Regions from separate parts of the Homo sapiens genome. Here regions 1, 3 and 4 are each linked to region 2. Evidence: promoter capture Hi-C in human tissues and cell types (Jung and others, 2019). All regions are on one chromosome and are shown on one strand. Each heading gives the region's core, a stretch centred on a gene start or on the middle of the fragment in contact. The rest is flanking DNA. Distances are from core to core; before and after follow the strand shown. Region 1 holds the start of DEF8 (differentially expressed in FDCP 8 homolog). Region 2 holds the start of ZC3H18 (zinc finger CCCH-type containing 18). Region 3 holds the start of CPNE7 (copine 7). Region 4 holds the start of FANCA (FA complementation group A).

Region 1 (2,816 bases), core at 5-2,504, 1.4 Mb before region 2:
CCTGGCGCACGGGCAGGGGATGAATGAGGGGAGGCCGCTGGCCTCGCAGCCTTAGCTTCTGCTCACACAGACCTGGGGATGCCGGCCACAGTGGCCGACTCTGAGCAGAACGCCAGCCTGCCCCTCTCACCAGGCTCACCCCACCAGTTCTGCACCCAGATGTGGGACTTGGCCTCAGAAAGGAGCGGGCAGGAAGTGGAAGAGTGAAAGCAAGAGGTCTGGCCACCCCCTGCCCCTCCTCTAGAGCCCACTGCTCTCATCGGGGAGGACCCCACAACTTAGCAATGAAAGGAAGCCGAAGAAAGCCGGCGGGGTTCCGGGGCACGGAGGGACCCTGGGCCGAAGCTCAGGACACGCGGGATGCACGGACCTGGCCTCCCGCGTCCTGCCCGCGGCGTGACCACCAGGAAGCGGTGTCATCACTGCAGCTGCCACCCCGAGAACCTGAGAAGTCACCCCGGTGTGCGGAGTCAACAGCGTCCTGTCTGCCCATACCTGCATCGCCTGCCAGGGCCCAGGGGCTCGCAGGGACAGGATGGCCATTCCTCTAGGGCTGCTGGCCACGGAAGCCTGGCCGTGGGTTCGGCACCTGCTGCAGGGAGAAGCCACCCCAGCACTGTGCCTCCCCACCCACCACACCCGCGGGAGCTCGCCCGGTCTCCCGGGCTCCTCGGGGGCAGGTCTCTCCCACCCACCCGTTCCACCGAGGGGGAAACTGAGGCTCGGAGCAGCCCAGGGCGGGGGCACGGCCACGCGGGTCCCCTGAGCCGCCCGGGTGCTCCGCACGCAGCTGGTGTGGACGCCGGAGCAGCGGCGGCGTCCCCGGGGTGGGGCGGCCGAGGTCTCGAGGCCCCTGCGCCGGGCGGGCCGCCCTCCCAGCCCCGTCCCCGCCGGCCCCGACCTCGCCGGCCCCGTCCCCGCCGGCCCCGTCCCCGCCGGCCCCGTCCCTCCCAGCCCCGACCCCGCCGACCCCGTCCCCGCCGGCCCCGTCCCTCCCAGCCCCGACCCCGCCGGCCCCGTCCCCGCCGGCCCCGTCCCCGCCGGCCCCGTCCCTCCCAGCCCCGTCCCCGCCGACCCCGTCCCCGCCGGCCCCGTCCCTCCCAGCCCCGACCCCGCCGACCCCGTCCCCGCCGGCCCCGTCCCCGCCGGCCCCGTCCCCGCCGGCCCCGACCCCGCCGGCCCCGCGCCGCTCACCTGACCGCCGCCTCGCATCTGTCTCCCGGCTGCGCTGGATCCGCCCGGCCGCCCCGCTACGCTGGATCCAGCCCCGCGCTCGCTGCTGCCGCCTCCGGCGCGGAGGTTCATGGCACGCGGGTCGCGAGTCTGCGAGCCCCGGAGTCCGCCCGGCTGTTCCGCGGGCCTGACCTGGGGCTGCGCGTCCTGGGTTTCCTCTCATCGCAGAAGGCCTGTGGCTGAAACCCAAACCCCAACACGTTTAAAAAAAATGGGCGGGCGCGGCGGCTCACGCCTGTCATCCCAGCGCTTCGGGAGGCCGAGGCGGGCGGATCGCGAGGTCAGGAGATCGAGACCATCCTGGCTAACACGGTGAAACCCCGTCTCCACTAAAAATACGAAAAATTAGCCGGGCGCGGTGGCGGGCGCCTGTAGTCCCAGCTACGCGGGAGGCTGAGGCGGGAGAACGGCGTGAACCCGGGAGGCGGAGCTCGGAGTGAGCCGAGATCGCACCACTGCACTCCAGCCTGGGCGACAGAGCGAGACTCCGTCTCAAAAAAACAAAAAGGGTGGCTTTTAACACTTTTTTTAACCTCAGTGGTTGAGGAGGAAAAAGGAACAGAGAACCACCGTGTGCAGGTGCCGCCAGCCACCTGCAGGGCCCCGCGGGGGCTTCACGGCTGCAGAGGGAGGGACCCGGCGCGGCTCTACCCTCTTTACACAGGAGGACGCGCCACACTGCGCTCAGGAGGCTGCTCCATGCAGGCGCCGGGCAGCGGGACTTCGGAGGCAGCTGGTGTCCGCGGGCCCTGGCGTTATTCCTGCTTTCCCGTTGTTTACACACAGAGCAGGCCTGCTGCTCCCCGCCCCCGTATCCCTACTCTTAGGCTTCTCGCGTGGAAGATTCAGCTGCCCCCGCTTGTGCCCGCAGGGAGGAGCTGAGGACAGATGAAGGCCAGCATATGCGCCTGGTGCGCTTGCCCTGAGCTCGCGGGCTCAGTTTACCCTCCCTGCAGAAAGGTGTGGTTTTGGCTGCCTCTGGGGCTTGGTCCACTTTGTTCAGTGGGCATGGTGATGACAGTGCCAGTAACTGGAGGCCTCCCAAGTGGGAGCCACACACCACCTTGCAGAGACCAGCTCGGTCGGGGAGACCCTAACCCGGCAGCGCTAGAGGAACTAAAGACACACACACACAGAGATAGAGAGGTGTGGAGTGGGAAATCAGGGGTCTCACAGCCTTCAGAGCTGACAGCCTCGAACAGAGACTTACCCACGTATTTATTAACGGCAAACCAGTGATAAGCATTGTTTCTGTAGATATTAGACTAACTAAAAGTATCCCTTATGGGAAACGAAGGGATGGGCCAAGATAAAGGGATGGGTCTGGCTAGTTACCTGCAGCAGGAGCATGTCCTTAAGGCACAGATCGCTCACGCTATTGTTTGTGGCTTAAGAATGCCTTTAAGCAGTTTTCCGCCCTGGGTGGGCCAGGTGTTCCTTGCCCTCATTCTGGTAAACCCACGACCTTCCAGCGTGGGCGTCATGGCCGTCATGAACATGTCACAGTGCTGCAGAGATTTTGTTTATGGCCAGTTTTGGGACCAGTTTATGGCCAGGTTTTGGGGGGCGTGTTGCCAACACCA
Region 2 (2,951 bases), core at 448-2,947:
TCTCACCTGATAAGGTGAGCTACCAACCACGTAAGTAAACTTTTGGTCAAACCTGGAGGGTGACTATTGAATAAGACTGATTTTCCCATATGACTACATTTTTACTACCACAACAGGAGTTCTAAAGAGATTCTGGCAAAGAAGCACCGATGAAATACAAGCACATTTTGGGACAATTACTTTCAACAGAGCAGTACCTATTTGAATGCCTAAGTTCTGGTACATCTGGTTAAAATTCTGACTCATAACCTCATGGACTTAAAATATCTAAATGAACGTTATCAAGGTTGGTGACAGACCCCACGTGCAAAGTGACCAAGCGTGACCACTAAACTCCTTGATAAAGAGGTACTCACCTTGAGATGCTCTGTAGCTGTGACAAAATACAAATCTCTGTAAACACGATGTAGGCCATAGGTTAACTTACCTGTTTGCTTTCTGGAGTGACTCCACAAAGCTTTCTTACAATATTTCAGCATGTCCCACCTACAACGGGAGAGGAGTTTCCGGCTTTGGGACACATTTGACTGGTTCCAGGGCTGGCTGGGCTCCATACTGCCCTTAGATAGTAAAATTATCAGGAAAAGACTCTCCTCCCAAAGCTGGGAAGCGGGATTCAGCCGAGGTCAAACCTCACCCGGATAATCCCAACTACTGAACGGGAAAGGACTACTCTACAGACAACAGGCTGGAGGTGAGTCTAACAGGAGACATGATGAGCACCTTGCTACACCCCAAACGGTACTTCAGATGCCAAACACTCTCTTCTTCCATTTTCCCAAATGGGTCTGAAGAATGACCTACTCTTGCAAATGAGTTAGCGTTGTTCGAACAAAGCTCATTTAAAACGGCCACTCTACCCGGCAAACTCAGTTGTCATAAAGTATTCAGGAAAAATGTTTGGCAGGAGTAAGGCTGTTAAGTTTCAGTTCTTCCAGCATTATAGCTGCAGTTGGTCTATATAAAGGACCCAGCACCTCTGATCTCCTAATCCAAGGGGCAAGGAAGTTACATACTCCTAAGAGACCGGCGCGCGTCTTGGGGCAATCACTGCGCCCAACCTGTGCACACTTTGAAGCTGCGGAGCAAGTTCCAGGAGGTTCATAAAGAGCTCAAAGTTCTCCGAAGAGCCCAGCAGCAGCCCGGGATGACCTACTCTGGAGGTGAATCTGGGCGCCTCTCACCGCCCCTTAGCCGGCGGCACACATGTGCCACGCGAGTGGCCCGGAAGAGAAATGACAGCTTCAGGAAAATAAACTCTGCCGCGGGGCGCGGAGGCAGCGCGCGAGGAGCTCGGGCGCCCAGGGCGCCCCAGGACCGCGGGGCCGGCTTACGGACGGAACTCGGGGTGGTGCCTGTCTCAAGGTCCCCTTCCCTGGGCCCGAGGGCCACGCTTCGGCCGGTGGGTCCGCACGGCCGGAGGCGCGCCGGGCTCCCGGGCCTCCCTCCCGCGGCCGCCGCCGCCGCCTCGGCGGCCTCCTCCTCCCGCCGCCGCCGGCCCGGCCTCCCGCCGCCCTCCCGGCCCCAGCTAACCTCAGCGCTAGGGCGGAGAGGAGGCCACGGCTCCCCTGGAGTCGGAGCGGCGTGGAGAAGACGTCCCTTGGCCCTTCCGCTCTTCACAGGTTCTGGCTCCAGGCTCGACACGGGCGGAACAAACGGGCTCCACTACCCGCGGGGGCCGGCCATTGTGCGACGTCATCAGGCCGCGACGGTAGTCCTACGGCCGGCGGGCTTCCCTCCCTCGCCCCGCCCCCTCCAGCTTCCTTCCGGCCTCCGCGCGGTTCCGCCCCCGCAGCGCGCGCCCGGACCCGCGCGAGCCAGCCGAACCCCCGCTACAGCGCAGGCGCCACGGGGAGTTCGCTTCTCAGGCGGCGGGCGTGCGGATCCGCGCCTGCGCACAGAGCTCCCCGCGGCCGCCGGGTCACGTGACGGGGCTCCGGCTGGGCCGGCGGGTTCTTCATCCCCGGGGATGATCGAGTTCATCAAAGTGGAAAACTTAAGGCGGTCTTCGTCGGGCTGATACTTCCTGCTTTATTGAATGTTGATATTAAATGCTTACCTCCGGAATTATTTTTTGAGGTATCGACTTTAGATTAAAAGCCTAACAATTCTTACCTTTCCCGTGGGCTGCCTGGCTCCCCGCGCGGTTCAACGCGAGCAGCGCCAGTGAGGGGACCTGTCGCGTGTCCTGCTCAGCGCGGTGTCCCACGGGCGCGTCCACAGCCCGGGGCGTCCAGGGGCTGCAGCGGTGCGAGCTGCTCTAGAGACGGAGGGCCCGGCCGGAGACCAGGGGCCGGCGGTTTCATCCTGCGCTGACCCTTGCCAACGACGTGGCTGGTCCTGGGGATCACAGGGCTTCGCTCATCCCATCTTCCTCCATATCCCCAAGGTGGAAACAAGGGGGCGAGATGTCCACAAACTGAGGAACAGACAAAATGCTGGCTGTCCATGCAGTGGAGTGTGAGTCAGTCATCAAGAAGAGTGAAGTTCAGACCCATGCCACAACATGGGTGAACCTTGGAAACATACTAAGTAAAGCAAGCCAATCGCAAAAGGACAAAACCTGTGCGACTCCATGCTATGGACCGAGTTCTGTCCCCCTAACATTTGTATGTGAAGCCTTAATCCCCAATGTGACTGTGTTTGCAGAAAGGGCCTTTAGAGAAGTAATTAAGGTTAAATGAGATTATAAGGGTGGGGTCCTGATCTGATAGGATTAGTGTCCTTGGAAGAGGTACCACAGGCCTGGCACTGTGGCTCACACCTGTAATCCTAGCACTTTGGGAGTCCAAGGTGGGAGGACCACCTCCTCCAGGAGTTTGAGACCAGCCTGGGCAACAAAGCAAGACCCCTGTCTCTACAAAAAAATTAACAGGGCACCGTGGTGCGTGCCTGTAGTCCCAGCAACTTGTTATGGTTACGTAAGAGGAATGTGAATTCAACCCTGGTGA
Region 3 (2,734 bases), core at 207-2,706, 1.0 Mb before region 2:
GCACCAGCTGAGTGGGGAGGGGGCGTAGGGTACAGGGGGGCCCTCCCTCCTGGCTGGGGTACCATGGGCTCACCAGCCTCTCCCATCCCATGCAGTTCCCTGGTCCAACTGCCCCGTAAGGACAAGACCCAGCTGGGCCAGTAGGCTACTCATTTCAGAATCCTGAAAAATCCTGCACCTCAAACCAAGGGCAAACATGGGCCACCCGTACAGCTCACGCTCTGAGGGTGCGGGCACGAGGCCTCCGTGGGGATGGTGGGCTCGGGATGTGAAGGGTGGGCTCAGGCTGTGAGGGGCGGGCACGGGGCCTCCGGGGGCAGCCGGAACCCTGGGGACAGGCGGTGAGGGCGGGGCAGGCCCTTCACCCTCAAGGTGGATGACCGGAGACGCCACCGGGTGACCGCGTCCCTTCCACCGCCCGAGCAGCCGCCCGGGCCCGCGCTGGAGCCTGGAGAGACCCCTGCGCCGGGGAAAAGCGCTGGCGCCCCGCGCGGACTGGGGTTCGAGTTCCGGCTCCTCCGCCCGCTGCGGCTTCGCGCCATGCGTTTCTCGCCCTTTCGAGGTGAAGCCACGCGTTTCACGCGAGATGGTGACCGAGGAAGCGCCCGTCTGGCGCCGGCCCCGTGCCCCTTCGGACCCCAACCGCGATCACAGCGGGTTCGCTTGAGACCCACGTTGGAGCGGGAGCCCCGGACGCCTGGAGGTCCGCACCCCAGCGCGCGCTCCCTCGCCGGCCTGCTCCCGCCCAGCCTCCCGCCCCCCGTCGGCCGGCGCCCCTCACCCCTCAATCTCCTTGCGCCTCTTGGTCGAGCCCCCTGCCCGCGCCTCATGCCTGGGCGCTTCACTCTGGCCCGGGGCCCCCTCCCCGAACCCTGGGCCGCACCCCTCACTGCGGGGCACCCCCCTCTCTCCTCCGAACCCCGCTCGCCGCCACCTCCTCCAGCCCAGCCTCTCCCCACAGCTCTGGACACCCCACCCCCAGACCTGGTAACCCCCAACCCTGACCCCGAGCTGAGCCCCAGCTCCGGGGGGCCCCGCCTTGCGCCCCACTGGCCTCAGCGCGCCCGCTCTGGTCTCCGCATCCCCAGCTCGGCGCCAGCCCCGGCCCGGTGGCCTCTCGGCCTCCCACGCCCCGGCCCTACCTGCACCCACTGGCCCTGCGCCTGCTGCAGCAACGCCACGCTGGGGTCGGACTTGGTGAGCGGGTCGCGGTCCAGCAGGTGCCGGCAGCTGAGCCGCAGCTCCACCTTCGAGGCGCAGGGCGCGGGCAAACCCCCGGGGGTTGCCGCCGCCCCGCGCTCCGAGCCCGCGCTCATGCTCCCGGCGTTCGGGGGCCCGGCTGGGCGCACTGAGGGGCCGCTGCCCGCGAGTCGGCGCCGCCGCGGCGCCCGGGAAATGGTGGCCGGCCCAGGCGTGGCCGCGCTTCCCTGAACGCCTGCCGGGCGCGGGCGCACGTGGCTCGGGCGGCCGCCGCGCGGGGACTGCAGGGGGTGGGGCGCGGCCGGGGGGCGGGGCCGGGGAGGGGCGCGGCGGGAAATGAGGGCAGGGGGCAGAGGCAGGGGTGCCCCTCGGAGATGCCCGGGAGGAGACAGCTTCTAATTCCCCGGGGACCCCCCCCCCAACTGATAGCTTTGGGGTCAGGTCGGGCGCGCCCTCCCCGGCTGTGCGCATCCCCGGCCCAGGGACCGGCTCCGGGCTGGAGGCTCCGAGCTGCGCGGGGCCTGAGCCCGGGTTCGGACCCAGGCAGACACTAGGGGAGGCAAAAGGGGGACCCCAGCTTGGCACCAGATCCCCGCGCCCTTCCCGGATCTCTAGGATCCCATTTCCAGGCTCCGCTGGTTTCGGGTACTCGCCACCTCCATCAACAAGCATTTAGTGGGCGCCTGTTGTGTGCAGGCGCCGCGCTCGTCTGGGGCTGGAAGGACCGTCCCGGGGGGCCGAGGGCTGAATCGCGGTCTGATTCCGAGGGGTCCGCGGGGCACGGTCCACACCAGTCCCCCGAGGCCGGGGCGGGGCGGGGCAGGCCTGGGTTCCGTGGGGGGTGGGCCCGCTCCGCCCTGAACTCACTCCCCCACCTTCCCCATCACCGGTCCCGGGGGAGGGAGCAGCGGAAGAGGAGGCGTCGGCGGGGACAGAAACCACCTCGCAGTCCACTCTTTTTGCCGATTTCTGCCTAAAAATAGGGCACGGACCTCGCCAAAAGCCACGGGGGTGGGGGGCGAGGGTGAGGGAGACATTAAGACTGAAGAGGCGGGAAGACCGGGCGCCTCCGCTCAGCCTCGGCGATCAGGACTCTAGAAGAAGACCCTGCGGTCAGAGGGGACCGCCGCCGACAGGGCGAGGAGGCTCAGGGCCCCGCCGGCGGGAGGCAGCACAGGCAGCCTCGGCCTGGGAGGAGGAACGCGGCCAGCGGCGTCCCCTCGCGGTCGGACGGCGGGATGGCGCCGGGCGCGGCTGCAGGGCGGGGAGGCCCCACGGGGCTGGCAGGGCCGGGAGAGGCCATGGAGACCGGCTCCTGCCTTCCCGGGAGGTTGGCTAAAGAGGCGAGGAACAGGTCAGGGCGCAGCGAGGCCTGCAGGGCCCCATCTGCTGTCTCCCCGGCCTCTGCGCCTCCTCCCTGAAGCCCGCAGTGGGCAGAGGCCAGTCCCGCTCTCTAGGGACCAGTCTGGGCCTTCCCGGCCCTGTGTCCTCCTCAGCCCAGCCTTCCAGGCTGCCGGGAGGCCACATCCTCGGT
Region 4 (2,886 bases), core at 3-2,502, 1.2 Mb before region 2:
TCAACCAGCAGATTGCAAAGTGTCCGAGTCGGGCCGTGCAGGAGTCTTTGTGGGGGTTTCATGGACTCCGAATTCTCATTTCTGCTCCATCCCCATCTCATGAATCCAAGGCCCCACTCTGTGCCTCGGCTCTTCGTTTGTGGTGCTGAACGTCATCTACGTCATCTACGCCATCTACGTAATCAACACAATAAAGACGCCTGCCGGGAACGCGGCCCTTCGGCTGAATCCCTTCGGTGGTTCCAAGGCCACTGCCAGAGGATGCGGACGGGTCTCCAGGGCCTCTACTTACCCAGGACTTTGAGGCACATTAGCTTCGCCTAGGCACTCGCTTTTACGAATTCTTATGTTTGGTTTTGTTTTGAGACAGAGTCTCGCTCTGCCGCCCAGGCTGGTTAAAAGATAGGGTCTCAGCCGGGTGCGGTGGCTCACGCCTGTAATCCCAGCACTTTGGGAGGCCGAGGCGGGCGGATCACCTGAGGTCCGGAGTTCGAGACTAGCCTGGGCCAACATGGCGAAACGCTGTCTCTACTAAAAATAACAAAAATCATCCAGGCGTGGTGGCGCGCACCTGCAATCCCAGCTACTCGGGAGGCTGAGGCAGGAGAATCACCTGAACCCAGGAGGCAGACGTTGCAGTGAGCCGAGATCGCGCCACTGCACTCCAGCCTGGGCGACAGAGGGAGACTCCGTCTCAAAAAAAGGAAAAAAAAAAAAAAGAAAAGAAACAAAAGTGATGGGGTCTCGCTCTGTTGCCCAGGCTAGTCTGGAATTCCTGGGCTCAAGCGACCCTCCAGCCTCGGCCTCCCAAAGCGCTGGGAATACAGGCGCGGCTACCGCGCGGTCTCCGGCTGCCGAAACACCGCCCTGCGCGCGGACCGTTCGGCCGCCGGGAGGAACAGCGGCTGCCCGGAGCTCAGAGGCGCGCGCGGCTTTGCGCTCCCCGCGGCGCTCTGAGCCTGCCTCGGCTTGGTTGGCCAGGTGGTCTCTTCAGGACCAACCCCAGTCATTCCCGGCAGGAACCACGCTTGAGGGGCGGCAGTCTGCCCGCGCGAGACGCCCCCGCGGACTACACCGCGGCGGCAAAGCCAAACGCAAAAACTACCTCACCGCGCGCAGGCGCCTCCCCCAGGACCAACATGGCCACGACGCAAGGCCTCGACCTGAGGGGCGTGGCCTGGCCGCCGCCAGCCAACGGGTGTGCGCGCCTGGCCGCAGCCAATAGGAAGGCAGCGCGGGCTCGGGCGCAGGGAGCCGCCGCCGGGGCTGTAGGCGCCAAGGCCATGTCCGACTCGTGGGTCCCGAACTCCGCCTCGGGCCAGGACCCAGGGGGCCGCCGGAGGGCCTGGGCCGAGCTGCTGGGTAGGTGGGCGCGGCAGGCCGCGGGAGTGGGCGGCGTCCGGCCCGGGACGGTTTCGCCGGTTCCCCGATCCCTTCCCGCCAGAGCCTCCGCCGGTCGGATCCCCGGACGCCGCGCCCGGGGGGCTGTGCGGGGTGGGCGCCCGGCTGGGGCGGCGCGGCTGCCTCGGACCCGGCCCCTCCTGCGCCTGGGCGGACGCCCCCAGCCGCCGCCCGCGGGGCGCTCCCTTCTTTCCCGAACGCCGCCCCCGCCGGCCGCCCTGTCAGGCGGGCCTGGGGTGCGCGGCCTGGGGCTCCCCTCAGCGCAGAGGCCGCCCCTCGCCAGCCGTCCCCGGGCTCCCCTGCCTCGGGCCCTCCTGGGCCGTCTTCCCCGGCGTCCGCGGTGGGGCCGTCTCCGTTAGTTTCCCGAGACCTGCGCCCTGGGGAGGAGCCCCGGCCCCTCTTCGGGAGGGTGTCGCTGGTGGGTTTCTCCGCGGCGTCCACCTGCGCGTCGGGCCGGGGACCCCGTGTGTGAATTGTGCTGTGATGGTTTCGAACCGACTTCTCTCCGTAGCGGGAAGGGTCAAGAGGGAAAAATATAATCCTGAAAGGGCACAGAAATTAAAGGAATCAGCTGTGCGCCTCCTGCGAAGCCATCAGGACCTGAATGCCCTTTTGCTTGAGGTAAGAGGAAGCTGGTGTCCGTCTGCGGGCAGATTTAGGTTCGGGGTTTTTGAGTCCAGCCACCGCACAGCTTTCCTAAGAAAACACCCGAGGCGGCGGGCGCGGTGGCCTGGCCCGCAGAGGGGAGGGTCGCCTGAGCCCGGGAGTTCTGGACCAACCTGGGCAACGGGGTGAGACCCCGCCTCTTTTATTAAAAACAAAACAACAACAACAAAAAAACAGGCCGGGCGCCGTGGCTCAGGGCTGTAATCCCAGCTTTTGGGGAGGCCAAGGCGGGTGGATCACTCAGGGTCAGGAGTTCGAGACCAGCCTGGCCAACATAGTGAAACCCGGTCTCTACTGAAAATACAAAAATTAGCTGGGTGTGGTGGCGCACGCCTTTAATCCCAGCTACTCGGGAGCCTGAGGCAGGAGAATTGCTTGAACCTGGACCCGGGAGGCAGAAATTGCAGTGAGCCGAGATCACGCCCCTTGCAATCCAGTCTGGATTACAGAGTGAGACTGTCTCACAAAAAAAAAAAAAAAAAAAAAAAAAAAAAAAGCCGGGCGTGGTGGCTCACGCCTGTAATCCTAGCCCTTTGGGAGGCCGAAGTGGGTAGATCACTTGAGGTTAGGAGTTCGAGACCAGCCTGACCAACATGGTGAAACCCCGTCACTACTTAAAATACAAAAATTAGCCGGGTATGGTAGCAGGTGTCTGTAATCCCAGCTGCTCAGGAGGCTGAGGCAGGAGAATCGCTTGAACCTGGGAGGTGGAGGTCGCCGTGAGTGAGATCCCGCCATTGCACTCCAGCCTGGACGACAGTGAGACTCCCTCTCAAAAAAGAAAAAAAGGAAAATAGCCCAGTAGGGAAGCATTACTTA

What was found. Contacts are between HindIII fragments. The study calls those that stand out against the background at their distance.
Region 1: a contact is called between the fragment with the promoter of DEF8 here and the fragment with the promoter of ZC3H18 in region 2, in 1 of the 25 tissues and cell types used here (lymphoblastoid cells).
Region 3: a contact is called between the fragment with the promoter of CPNE7 here and the fragment with the promoter of ZC3H18 in region 2, in 1 of the 25 tissues and cell types used here (dorsolateral prefrontal cortex).
Region 4: a contact is called between the fragment with the promoter of FANCA here and the fragment with the promoter of ZC3H18 in region 2, in 1 of the 25 tissues and cell types used here (lymphoblastoid cells).

The regions. Positions count from the first base shown.
Region 1 is chr16:89,947,193-89,950,008 of GRCh38, reverse strand. DEF8 (differentially expressed in FDCP 8 homolog) reads right to left here and starts at 1,254. Exons shown (of 13, transcript NM_001242818.2): 1 at 1,195-1,254; 2 at 496-592. RefSeq lists a silencer at 1,125-1,224 and an enhancer at 1,905-2,244. The HindIII fragment of the contact is 40,323 bases long and covers 1-2,816 here.
Region 2 is chr16:88,569,149-88,572,099 of GRCh38, reverse strand. It overlaps ZC3H18 (zinc finger CCCH-type containing 18), which reads right to left and starts at 1,697. Exons shown (of 18, transcript NM_144604.4): 1 at 1,534-1,697. RefSeq lists enhancers at 1,107-1,156, 2,247-2,296, 2,407-2,516 and silencers at 1,427-1,496, 1,677-2,006. The HindIII fragment of the contact is 27,123 bases long and covers 1-2,951 here.
Region 3 is chr16:89,574,480-89,577,213 of GRCh38, reverse strand. CPNE7 (copine 7) reads right to left here and starts at 1,456. Exons shown (of 15, transcript NM_153636.3): 1 at 1,143-1,456. The coding sequence starts at 1,316. RefSeq lists silencers at 1,993-2,062, 2,303-2,532. The HindIII fragment of the contact is 23,727 bases long and covers 1-2,734 here.
Region 4 is chr16:89,815,013-89,817,898 of GRCh38, reverse strand. It overlaps FANCA (FA complementation group A), which reads left to right and starts at 1,252. Exons shown (of 43, transcript NM_000135.4): 1 at 1,252-1,362; 2 at 1,913-2,022. The coding sequence starts at 1,284. RefSeq lists enhancers at 589-638, 1,024-1,318 and silencers at 1,179-1,468, 1,699-1,748. The HindIII fragment of the contact is 15,845 bases long and covers 1-2,886 here.